3 separate regions of the Homo sapiens genome follow, and regions 1 and 2 are each linked to region 3. The links are contacts of gene promoters, found by promoter capture Hi-C in human tissues and cell types (Jung and others, 2019). All regions are on one chromosome and are shown on one strand. The core of a region is centred on a gene start or on the middle of the fragment in contact, and the rest is flanking DNA. Distances in the headings are between cores, read along the strand shown.

What was found. Contacts are between HindIII fragments. The study calls those that stand out against the background at their distance.
Region 1: a fragment that was not itself captured here is called in contact with the fragment with the promoter of TULP4 in region 3 in 2 of the 25 tissues and cell types used here (dorsolateral prefrontal cortex and hippocampus).
Region 2: a contact is called between a fragment that was not itself captured here and the fragment with the promoter of TULP4 in region 3, in 3 of the 25 tissues and cell types used here (H1 embryonic stem cells, dorsolateral prefrontal cortex and neural progenitor cells).

Annotation. Positions count from the first base shown.
Region 1 is chr6:158,267,201-158,270,628 of GRCh38, forward strand. It overlaps a transcript of TULP4 not described here. Among named protein-coding and RNA genes, the nearest start is that of TULP4, 44 kb to the right of the region's middle. The HindIII fragment of the contact is 3,105 bases long and covers 392-3,428 here.
Region 2 is chr6:158,362,422-158,365,786 of GRCh38, forward strand. The region is part of intron 1 of TULP4 (TUB like protein 4); the gene reads left to right. Among named protein-coding and RNA genes, the nearest start is that of SNORA116, 41 kb to the left of the region's middle. The HindIII fragment of the contact is 4,819 bases long and covers 1-3,365 here.
Region 3 is chr6:158,310,623-158,314,086 of GRCh38, forward strand. It overlaps TULP4 (TUB like protein 4), which reads left to right and starts at 1,843. Exons shown (of 14, transcript NM_020245.5): 1 at 1,843-3,464. The coding sequence starts at 3,395. The HindIII fragment of the contact is 2,154 bases long and covers 254-2,407 here.

The DNA of each region.
Region 1 (3,428 bases), core at 694-3,193, 43 kb before region 3:
ATTCATCTGGGTTTTTTTCTTTCTATAATCCAGGACAGTGCTGAAACCCATTCATCTGTTGATGGACACCGGGTAATTAAACTTTTTGAAGACATAATAGGCCATCAAGTAGATAAATCATACTAGAAGATGCAATTTTTGCCCTCAAAGAATACTGAAGTTGATATGCCAACATGTCAAACACAGAAGATGAAAGCAACTAAGTGATGTGAGAAGTCAGTGTGGGTTCATACAGAGTAACCAAAGGAGGTTGTCCTTGCCTTTCATCTAGTTGTTAGACTGAGGGAGGGTAGGACCTGGGAGGATTCCAGAAGAAGGTCTTCAGTTTGATTTCTGACCCTCCCACTTCTGTTGCTCTGTTAGGCCTCTGTGTACAGTTAGCAGCCATCTCATAGTAAATCTTCCAAATAATTAGGAGGGTCACTGCTTTGTCAGGACAATTTATACCCTTTCTCAATTAGCAAATTGTGTGGCAATCCAAAGTTAACTGGAGTGTTGCTCCCCTTTTCTATTTTGCTCCCGTGTGGATGTGGTGCAAGAAGGCCTGCCAAGGTCAGCCTCCCGTTTTCCTCCGTGGGTTGGTATAGACATGTTTGTTGGCCAGACATTGCCTAAAGCCCTGTAGTCAAGGGTGGTGTGCTTGCATTTGCCTGGCTGAATTAAGGCTCTTGGTGCTTTTCTATCAGTCGAATCCCTTCTCCTCCATGTCTTCTAGAAATTGAGAAGGGTTTATCAGTGGTACCTCACTCTGTTTTCCACAGGTTTTTAAAATTTTTTTTTGTTCTTTTACATTTGTTTGATCTTTTCTTTTCTTTTCTTTTCTTTTTCTTTTTTCTTTTTTTTTTTTTTTTTGAGACGTACTTTTGCTCTTGTTGCCCAGGCTGGATTGCAGTGGTGCGATCCTGGCTCACCACAACCTCTGCCTCCTGGGTTCAAGCGATTCTTCTGCCCCAGCCTCCCGAGTAGCTGGGATTACAGGCATGCACCACCACACTTGGCTAATTTTTTTTGTATTTTTAGTGGAGACGGAGTTTCTCCATGTTGGTCAGGCTGGTCTTGAACTCCCAACCCCAGGTGATCCGGCCACTTCTGCCTCCCAGAGTGCTGGAATTACAGGTGTGAGCCACTGCACCCGGCCTTGTTTGATCATTTTAATGGGACTTTGGGGAGAGGGATAAGGTAAACAGATGGCTCATTCATCATCCTGAATTTATTTTTGTGTACTATTTATTGTCTTAGTCTGTTTGGCTGCTATAACAAAATACCTTAGACTGGGTAATTTATAAACAGTAGAAATGTGTTGCTCACAATCCTGGGAGCTGAGAAGTCCAAGAGCAAGGCACCAGTGGACTTGTTGTCTGGTGAGGGCTTGCTTAATCACTTCCCAAAGGCCCCACCTCGTAATGCTATTACATTTGGTATTAGGTTCCAACATAGGAATTTTGGGGGGACACCAACATTTGGATCATAGCAATTACATTTTCCTATTTTACTGAACTCTTAATTGTTCTGATTTCATTTGATTCTGTTGGGTTTTCCAGATGGAAAATTATATTACTTACAAATCAGGGTGATTTTTGGCTCTATTTTTATATGACTTTTTTCTATTTTTATATGACTTTTTTTCCTGTTGTAATATTTTGCTTGTAATTTCTAGAATGATACTGAATAGCACTTTTGGTGAGCATCTTTGGCTTAATCCTCCCTTTAGCCTTTAGCACTGTTGGCTTTAGTCACTTTCTGCATATTGCCAAATTGCTTTTTGGAAAGCTGCACTAGAATTGGAGAGTGCTTGTCACCCATGTCCACACCCAAGCTTAGTGACCAGAGCATTGTGAAGGGTCTTTCCAATTTGTGGCTCTTGTCATTTTAAAATTAAATTTGGGTTTGCCATTTATTATTTTTTTCTAGAAATTCTCGAGTCTGAGAATATGAGAATAGAGTTGGCCTAGGTTCATACATTGTTTTGTTCTCACCAGATAATTACACAACTTTTTCTTCCTATTCCAAAGTAACAGTGTTGTGGAGTGGAAATTACTGTTGTTAATTTTAGCACCATAGTTTGGTGGAAAAAAGTATGGGTCTTGGAGCCAGATATCAGAACTAAGCTATGTCACTAATAGCCTAGTGACTTTTCATAACCTTACTTAAACTCTTTGAACTTTAGTTTCAGCATTTGTAAAAAAAAAAAAAAAAAAAAGGATTTTCCTGTCTCACTGGGAGACTGAGAACATGGAGTAAGATGCAAAGTGGGCCCTTCCTTAGTAATGGAGAAATCATTAGCATTCACATACAAGGCCATTCAGCAAGAATTCGTTGCCATTTGAGATTTTGATAGACTTTAATTTTGATCAGAGATAATTTTAACCTTTTTTTCTCCGTGATTCTTCATCCCTGATTTCCAGATGGAATCAGGGTCAATGATAATTGTCTCTGCATATTTCTTTAATAATCTATTTTATTCCAGATTTTAAACATTGCTTAATGGGTAGAATATAAATGAAATTGCAAAAGCAATGTCCAACATTTATTTAGCACTTTACTATGTGGGCAGGTAATTAAGTACTTGACATATGTTTATTTAGTCTTCCCAACATTCCTACTTCTTGGGAAATGAAGGTGTTTGAAAAGTTACCCAGTCAGGTGGTGGGAGAGCCAGGCCCGGTGCCCGGCAGTCTTGCTGCTGAGCTGCTGTCACTGTTCTGCCTTTGTGGTCTTCACAGGGTTGCTCCCTTTATTCCGTGTTCCTTAAGCCCATTTTATTGCTTCTAGATCTAGGAAAAAACAAAAACACTGAGTTTTTGAAAAGGCTAATTGTTTTAAAGTTAAATAGTAAGTGTCAAATGTACAGCATTCATATCTATTAAATATACGTTAATTCTACTCTGTAGCAGTAAGACCCTTTCCTATCCAGGCAGTATAATTAGATCTTCTATATATCTTTAATAGCCTTCTATTTATCTTAAGAACTCTGGCTTAATTTTCTCTTGGATTATTATAAAGTCTTCATTATTGAGATATTTTTGTCAGTAAATTGTCCTTACTTGGTCCAACTTGGAGCTCTCTTTCTTTGTTTTGCTCTTGCATCATCATCTGAAGACCCTACCTTGGCTTTATCCTGCCAGGGACCGGTCATTCCAGCAAGATTCTCTCAACTCTGCTCCACAGCACTTTTTTGGCTCTTGATTACAGGATTTACCTTGTAGTATTGAAGTTGGTTTATTTTGCCCATCTTCTCTCACTGTGTAGGGTGCTTCTCGGGGCTAGGGACTGGACTTCGATGAGTTTTGCATTGTCAGCACCCGGCCTGTTCGGCCTGTGGTGGGCACTCACTAAGTGTCTCTGGTACCGGGGCCGGTGATGGGCACTCAGTTAGCGTCTCTGGCCTGAGTGTTGCTTGGCTGCTTTCCTGGTTTGACACTGCACTT
Region 2 (3,365 bases), core at 534-3,033, 52 kb after region 3:
TCACTGTAAGCTTGACCTCCTGGGCTCAAGCAATGCTCCCGCCTCAGCTTCTCAAGTAGCCGGCACTACAGGTGTGTGCTCCCATGCCCAGCTAATTTTGGTATTTTTTATAGAGACAGGGTCTTGCTGTATTGTCCAGGCTGGTCTGGAACTCCTGGCCTCAAGTGATCTTCCTGCATTGGACTCCCAAAGTGTTGAGGTTACAGATGTGAGCCATGGTGCCCGGCCAGAGGGATTTTCATAATTATATTTATACTTCTCTGAGGTCTTTGGTGTCTGGGGTTGTAGATTGTGTCCATCTGTACTTAACCCATGCACACAGAGTGTTGTTTAGTGAATCTGACTTGAAACTCCATGCAAAGTCACAGTCTTGGCTGGGTGCGGTGGCTCACGCCCTTAATCCCAGCACTTTGGGAGGTCAGGAGGTCAGGAGTTCGAGACTAGCCTGGCCAAGTTGGTGAAACCCCATCTCTACTAAAAAAATACAAAAATTAGCCGGGTGCAGTGGCAGGTGCCTGTAATCCCAGCTACTCGGGAGGCTAAGGCAGGAGAAGCGCTTGAACCCGGGAGGCGGAGTTTGCAGTGAGCCAAGATTGCGCGTCTGCACTCTAGCCTGGGGGGACAGAGCGAGACTCCATCTCAAAAAAAAAAAAAAAAAAAAAAGTCACAGTCTTTGTATTAGGGCCAGGGAGTATTGTCCAGCTATTCACTGTTTAGAGCTAATACTTCCTTTATTCCCTGTTCTATCACATAAAAAACTATAGAACCTTCTCTTGCTGGCTGTGTGTACAGTGTTACAATAATTTACAATGCTTAAAAATAGGCAGATAATTGCTCTGGGATCCAGATGTGGAGGTTGAGATGACTTTATTGGGGAATGTGTTAACATATCACAGATCGCAGCAAGGGAACTAACATTTGTGTATAAATCACTGTTACATCTTTGAGGGTTAAGGCATCTATTTTTTTATTCACTTAGAGTACCAACTAGATTTTTTTCAACTGTCATTTTGCTGCCTATTTCCATGTAAGTTGAAGGTATGATAGTCACATTTTTTTTGTTTTTGTTTGTTTTCTTTTGAGGCGGAGTCTCACTGTGTCGCCCAGGCTGGAGTGCAGTGGCACGATCTTGGCTCACTGCAACCTCTGCCTCCTGGGTTCAAGTGATTCTCCTGCCTTAGCCTCCTGAGTAGCTGGGACTACAGGCACGCATCACTACGCCGGGCTATTTTTTTTGTATTTTTAGTAGAAATGGGGTTTTGCCCTGTTGGCCAGGCTGGTCCTGAACTCCTGACCTCAGGTGATCCACCCCCCCGGCCTCCCAAAGTGCTGGGATTACAGGCGTGAGCCACCGCGCAAGGCCGCGTGTTTTTTTTTTCTTTTAATTAAGTGTATGCATACAGTTGCCATTTGCAAAATCTTACTTTCATAAATACATATTAAAATAGTGAAATAATGTCATATGAAAAGAAAAATTTAGTTTTGTTTAGAGATGCACAGAATTTCTCTTTATTTAGATGTAAACCAAAGACAATTATGAATTATTTATCAACACTTTACCTTTCAAAATAAATTAAAAAAACCCACAATTTTGTGTTAAATATGGAGGAAATAGAACGTATCACTGAGAGCCAGGTAATTTGACCAAAGAAAGGTACAGTCAATAAAATGACTTCTCTTGGATCTCTTCCTTATTCTAATCACACTTCAAGGAAGTTTTTAAATTTAAAAAAATAATTTGAATGCTATGAAAAATATTGTATAATATTTAGGAACTGTCAAGTGTAGTTTTATATCTAACTAGAAGTTAAAATATGGAAGTGTGAAAATGAAGATGAAGATGCAGAGAGTTAGTTTAGAGGAAAGAGTACTAACTTGGGAGTCAACATGCCAAGGTTCCTTTGGTCTCAGCCATGAATTAAGAAACCTAAAACAAGTCCTTTATTCTGTCTTAGCTTACTGTATCACCTTCTTTCCCTTTGGGTTTTTATTATTTTTATTGAAGCATGTATTTTCTAGTAGTTCTTAGAGTAACTATCTATAGAAGGTAAACCTAGTCTTTGTATTTCAGAAATATCTTTTGTTTCATCTTTACTCTTCCTGGGTTTGGAATTCTGGGTTAGCTGGTTTTGTCTTAGAACTTTGAAAATATGATGTTATTGCCTTCTGTTATTCATTGTTACTGTTAAGAAGTCTGCTGCCAGTCTAATTATCATTCCCTTTTAACTGTTTTTTCAGTCTGCTAGTTTTCAAGGTTTTCTCTTTATCCTTAATGTTTTGCAGCCTCACAGCAATCTACCTAGATTTGTTTTTTGTTTGTTTGTTTGTTTTTTAAGACGGAGTCTCATTCTGTCACCCAGGCTGGAGTGCAGTGGCGTGATCTTGGCTCACTGCAAGCTCTGCCTCCCAGGTTGACGCCATTCTCCTGACTCAGCCTTCCGAGTTGTGGGACTACAGGCGCCCGCCACCACGCCTGGCTAATTTTTTGTATTTTTAGTAGAGATGGGGTTTCACCATGTTAGTCAGGATGGTCTCGATCTCCTGACCTTGTGATCCACCTGCCTCGGCCTCCCAAAGTGCTGGGATTACAGGCGTGAGCCACCGCGCCCAGCCCCTAGATTTGTTTTTATCCAGTCTCTGCTTGGCACTCATTGCGAGCTTTCAGAATTGAGATTCAAGTCTTCAATTATGGCACATTTTTAGCGTTAGTTCTAGTATTGCCTCCCCACCACTCCTTCTAGCTTTATTTCTGGAAATCCTACTAGATGTGTTTCTTTTCACTCTACCTGTTATGTTACTTCACTTCTCATAGAGAGAAGTGTTTTATCTCTATTCTATACACAGAGTGAATTTAATTTACTAATTCTCTCGTTTACTGTGCTTGGTGTTGTTTCTCCCCATCTACTGACCATATATTTCATTTTCAGGATTTTGAATAGGTTTTTGTTTTCATAACTACTGCCTGATTTTGTTTCTAAAAATTTTTTTTTTTCTGGTTATTTTTCTTGTGTATCTCTTTGGAAGTTTTTTTTTTCTTTTTTTCTTTTTTCTTTTTTCTTTTTTTTTTGTTTTTGAGACAGAGTCTTGCTCTGTTGCCCAGGCTGGAGTGCAGTGGTGCGATCTCAGCTCACTGCAAGCTCCGCCTCGCAGGTTCACGCCATTCTCCTGCCTCAGCCTCCTGAGTAGCTGGGACTACAGGTGCCCGCCACCATGCCCAGCTAATTTTTTGTTAGTAGAGAGGGGGTTTCACCATGTTAGCCAATAGGGTCTCGATCTCCTGACCTTGTGATCCGCCCGCCTTGGCCTCCCAAAATGCTGGGATTACAGGCATGAGCTACCGCGCCCGGCCTGGAAGTTTTAACACA
Region 3 (3,464 bases), core at 593-3,092:
TGAGGGACTGCCCCCATGATCCAAACACCTCCCACCAGGCCCCACCTCTAACACTGGGGGTTACGTTTCAGCATGAGATTTGGAGGGGCCAAACATTCAAACCATGTCACATGGTATTCCATGAAAAAAGCAAGCAGTTCATTTTGCAACTTAAACTGTATAATACATGCTTTTTCCTGGGACTACCATGGTGCTTCAGTAGTCCACAGAAGTACTTTATGTGTACCTACTATTTTGGGACACAAGGGTATTAAAAACCATGTACTCAAGGGCTGATATTTAATAAAATTAATAATTTTTACTGCCGTATCAAAGATGTTCTTAAGTGAGGCTGGCTTTTTTTTTCTTTCTTTTTTTTAATCTATGACTACTGGTGCAGTTGGTACCTCTACCTTGATTAGTGTTAAAGAGCTTGCAGTTTGACCCACTGTTGATTTTGCACCATGGGTACAAATGTGAACACGGAAGAAGGCAAATTATGTCCTAGTATTATGATGAAAGTAGAGTCTTTTGCTGGGACTTGATGCTACAGGCCAGTAGTTCTCAAAGCCTGGTTCCCTGCCCAGCAGCATTAGCATCTCTTGGGAGCTTATTAGAAATGCGAACACCTGGGCCCTTCCCTTCCCTTTCAGTGTCCAGTTCCTGTGGGATGGGGCTGGGCCGCTTCAGCTGCCCCAGGAGACTGAGAGAGTCTGCTGAATTTGAGAAAGTCCACTCTGCTTTCTGGAAGGACTGGCGGGGCGGGAGGGCAGGGAGGATGAGTAAGTTAGGGACAGAGTGTTCTCGTGTTTGTAGAGGATGTGATGCAGCCTGGACTTCAGGCAGTAGGAAGAAGATGGAATGGATTTGCTAGAGACAGATTCTCTAGAACTTTATTGCTGGTAGACCACATAAAAGCTTAGAAAACAGCTGCGCTTTGCTCCGAGACCTGCCAGCCATCAGGGACGAATGAGTTTTAAAGGCCCTTACTGCTTTGTGTCTTGAGGGAATATCTTTTATTAATCGTGAAAAAATCAATCCAGATAACTTGCCTGAGTCATTTCAGTCTCCTTTTTGAGGATGCCTGCTTAAACAGCGACCATGGTCTCTGGAGGGGTAGAGTCTCACATTCGGAGTTCAGTCTCTTAGAAAGTACAGTTCAGTGTGGAAGAATGGCAGTTATGATTTCATTCAGATGTGCCCAGCTGCTGACAAATTGAATACAACGATCAGTGGCAGGCAGAACTCTCATTTGTTGTGTGTTGTCTTGAGTCTGGTGAGGTGTATCCTTTCACTATTGGATTTTACCATTCAGTGCAGTCAGTAGCTCCATTTGATGTAAGTGTAAAGATGGGTCTCTCATTTCAGTTTCAGCAATTATTCTTAAAACCTTTATTTTCCAGTGTTTTAAAGTTTTTAAATTTTATATCTTTTTTTTTTTTTAAACAGATTTGTAAGACTCCAGGGCCTCCCAGCCGTGAATAATCTGATGGTTCCTGAAATGACTGGGGAAGCAGACGCTTCGTATGGCAGTTGAAGAGTGTGTGTCTATGTGCATTTAAAACCTTCTTTCTGTACTTACACATTCACACGGGAAGACAGGCTCATTCTTGTGCACACTTGAGAGTTTTACAACTGATGAAAATTAATTTAAGAATCAGATGGAGCAACTTGACACCAGTGGGCTCAGGAGCCCGGGGAGAAAAATACATCACTAATGGCCAGTTTTCCATATGGTCTGCACGGGTAAAGAAAGTCTGCAAAAAGAAGAAAAAAAAATTTGCGCAGATTAAACCACAAAAATATTCTCCAGTTTAAAGAAGGAACTAAGTGAGAAGGTGACTGAGAAAGAAGTGTGATTTCAAACATTGCAGCGGCTCACACAGTGTTTGTTGCACTTTATTTTTCAGTGGGTTTGGTGATTTGGACGGATTAAAATTCTAGACTGAAAAGTAACTCCTACTGTGGTTATGGCTAGAGGAAAGCAAGTTCAAGTATGATGGGACAAGTTTGAATAATGAACTGATTCCTTTGCCTATCTTAATTAACTGTATTTGAGAAATTTTAATTTATTATTCCCCCCCTTTTTTCCTGCATCTATAGGATAATATTGTAAAATAGCAATTGAAACCAATAATTATTAAATAAATATCAAGGAAAATCCAAGCAAAGCTTTCTTTTTGTTGGACTAGTGGTGTGGTGTTTGGAGACAGTCTCTGAATGTGAACAGGAAAGCACCCATCAGCAAAACACTATCACTCTCTAGGGAGACAGCTGGGGGAATCTGACTCTGGCTTCTGCTTTTGTTTTAAGGGATTAACTTCCCTGTCAAGTCCAAGAAGACTTGCGTATGAGAAGATTACCTGATGGACTTAATTCTAAGATTAGCTTTTTTCATCAAGATGGAAAAAGATCTTTAGGAGCAGAAAAGGGGAGTGCTAACTGGGGGAGCGAGAAGGGAGACGAGCAAAAGAAACAAAATCTTGCCACGTGGCTCTGTTTTGTCAGCAAGAGGATTTAAGACTCACCCAGGGCAAACACTGGGACCACTGTAAGAGCGCTGGAACATTCTGCCTCTTGAGTGAAGGGGCCTTCTTTCTAGCCTCTATGGCACTGAGGGGTGCGCCGGCTGGTGGAGGAGCAGTCCGATGGAGCCCTGCGTTCCCCGGGGACACAGGGCCAAGCTTTGAGGTGGAAAGTTTCTGGTTCTGAAACAACAAGGAGAGAGTCTGTTTTTCTTCCTAAAATTTGGACTCTTGTCTGCACAAACTCTGGTCTGTTTTGCACGGTTTGTGTGCCTTTTTTTCCCTTTATGCAATCTTTTTCAGCTTTAGCAGCAGAAATTTGTCTAGTTCAGGAAACATGCTAGAGGGTGGCTTCAGAAGGAAGATGATCCTGTGTATTCTGTCTCTGCATCCGAACTTTTGAAGAGAAAAATTCGAGCTAGAGGGATTCTTAAAGCCTTAAGTTACTTGAAATCTATGTATTTGCAACCCTTTGTCTCTGGAATCATATTACACTAAACTGGAATCTCAGGCTGAATGAGAATAACCAAGTGGAGTAAAAAGAAGAAAACCGTTTCTTGATCACCACTTAATTAACGATGCTCTTTCTCCAAAGGATCAGCACGTTCTTCCTCTGAGAACTTGAAAATACAAATGGACCCCATGTTTTTTTAAGCATTACCTTTTCTTAGAAGACTGCCATCATCTTTTATAGAGGAATTTTTTCACTATGCATTCGGTGGATCTTTATAAAATACTGACCTTCTAATTAGATTCAGGTCAGTCTTAATTAAAGGGGGAAAAAAGCAACGCAAGCCAACCACAAAAACACATATACCAATGAAAGAAATTGGTTTAAATTTCACAGCATTAACATTACTTTTTAAGTAAAACAGTTCATTGAAGAAAGTATGTATGCAGCAGTGGAACATGGGCCTGTGCTTTGCAGCGATTCCAACATCCTGTGCCTGTCCTGGAAGG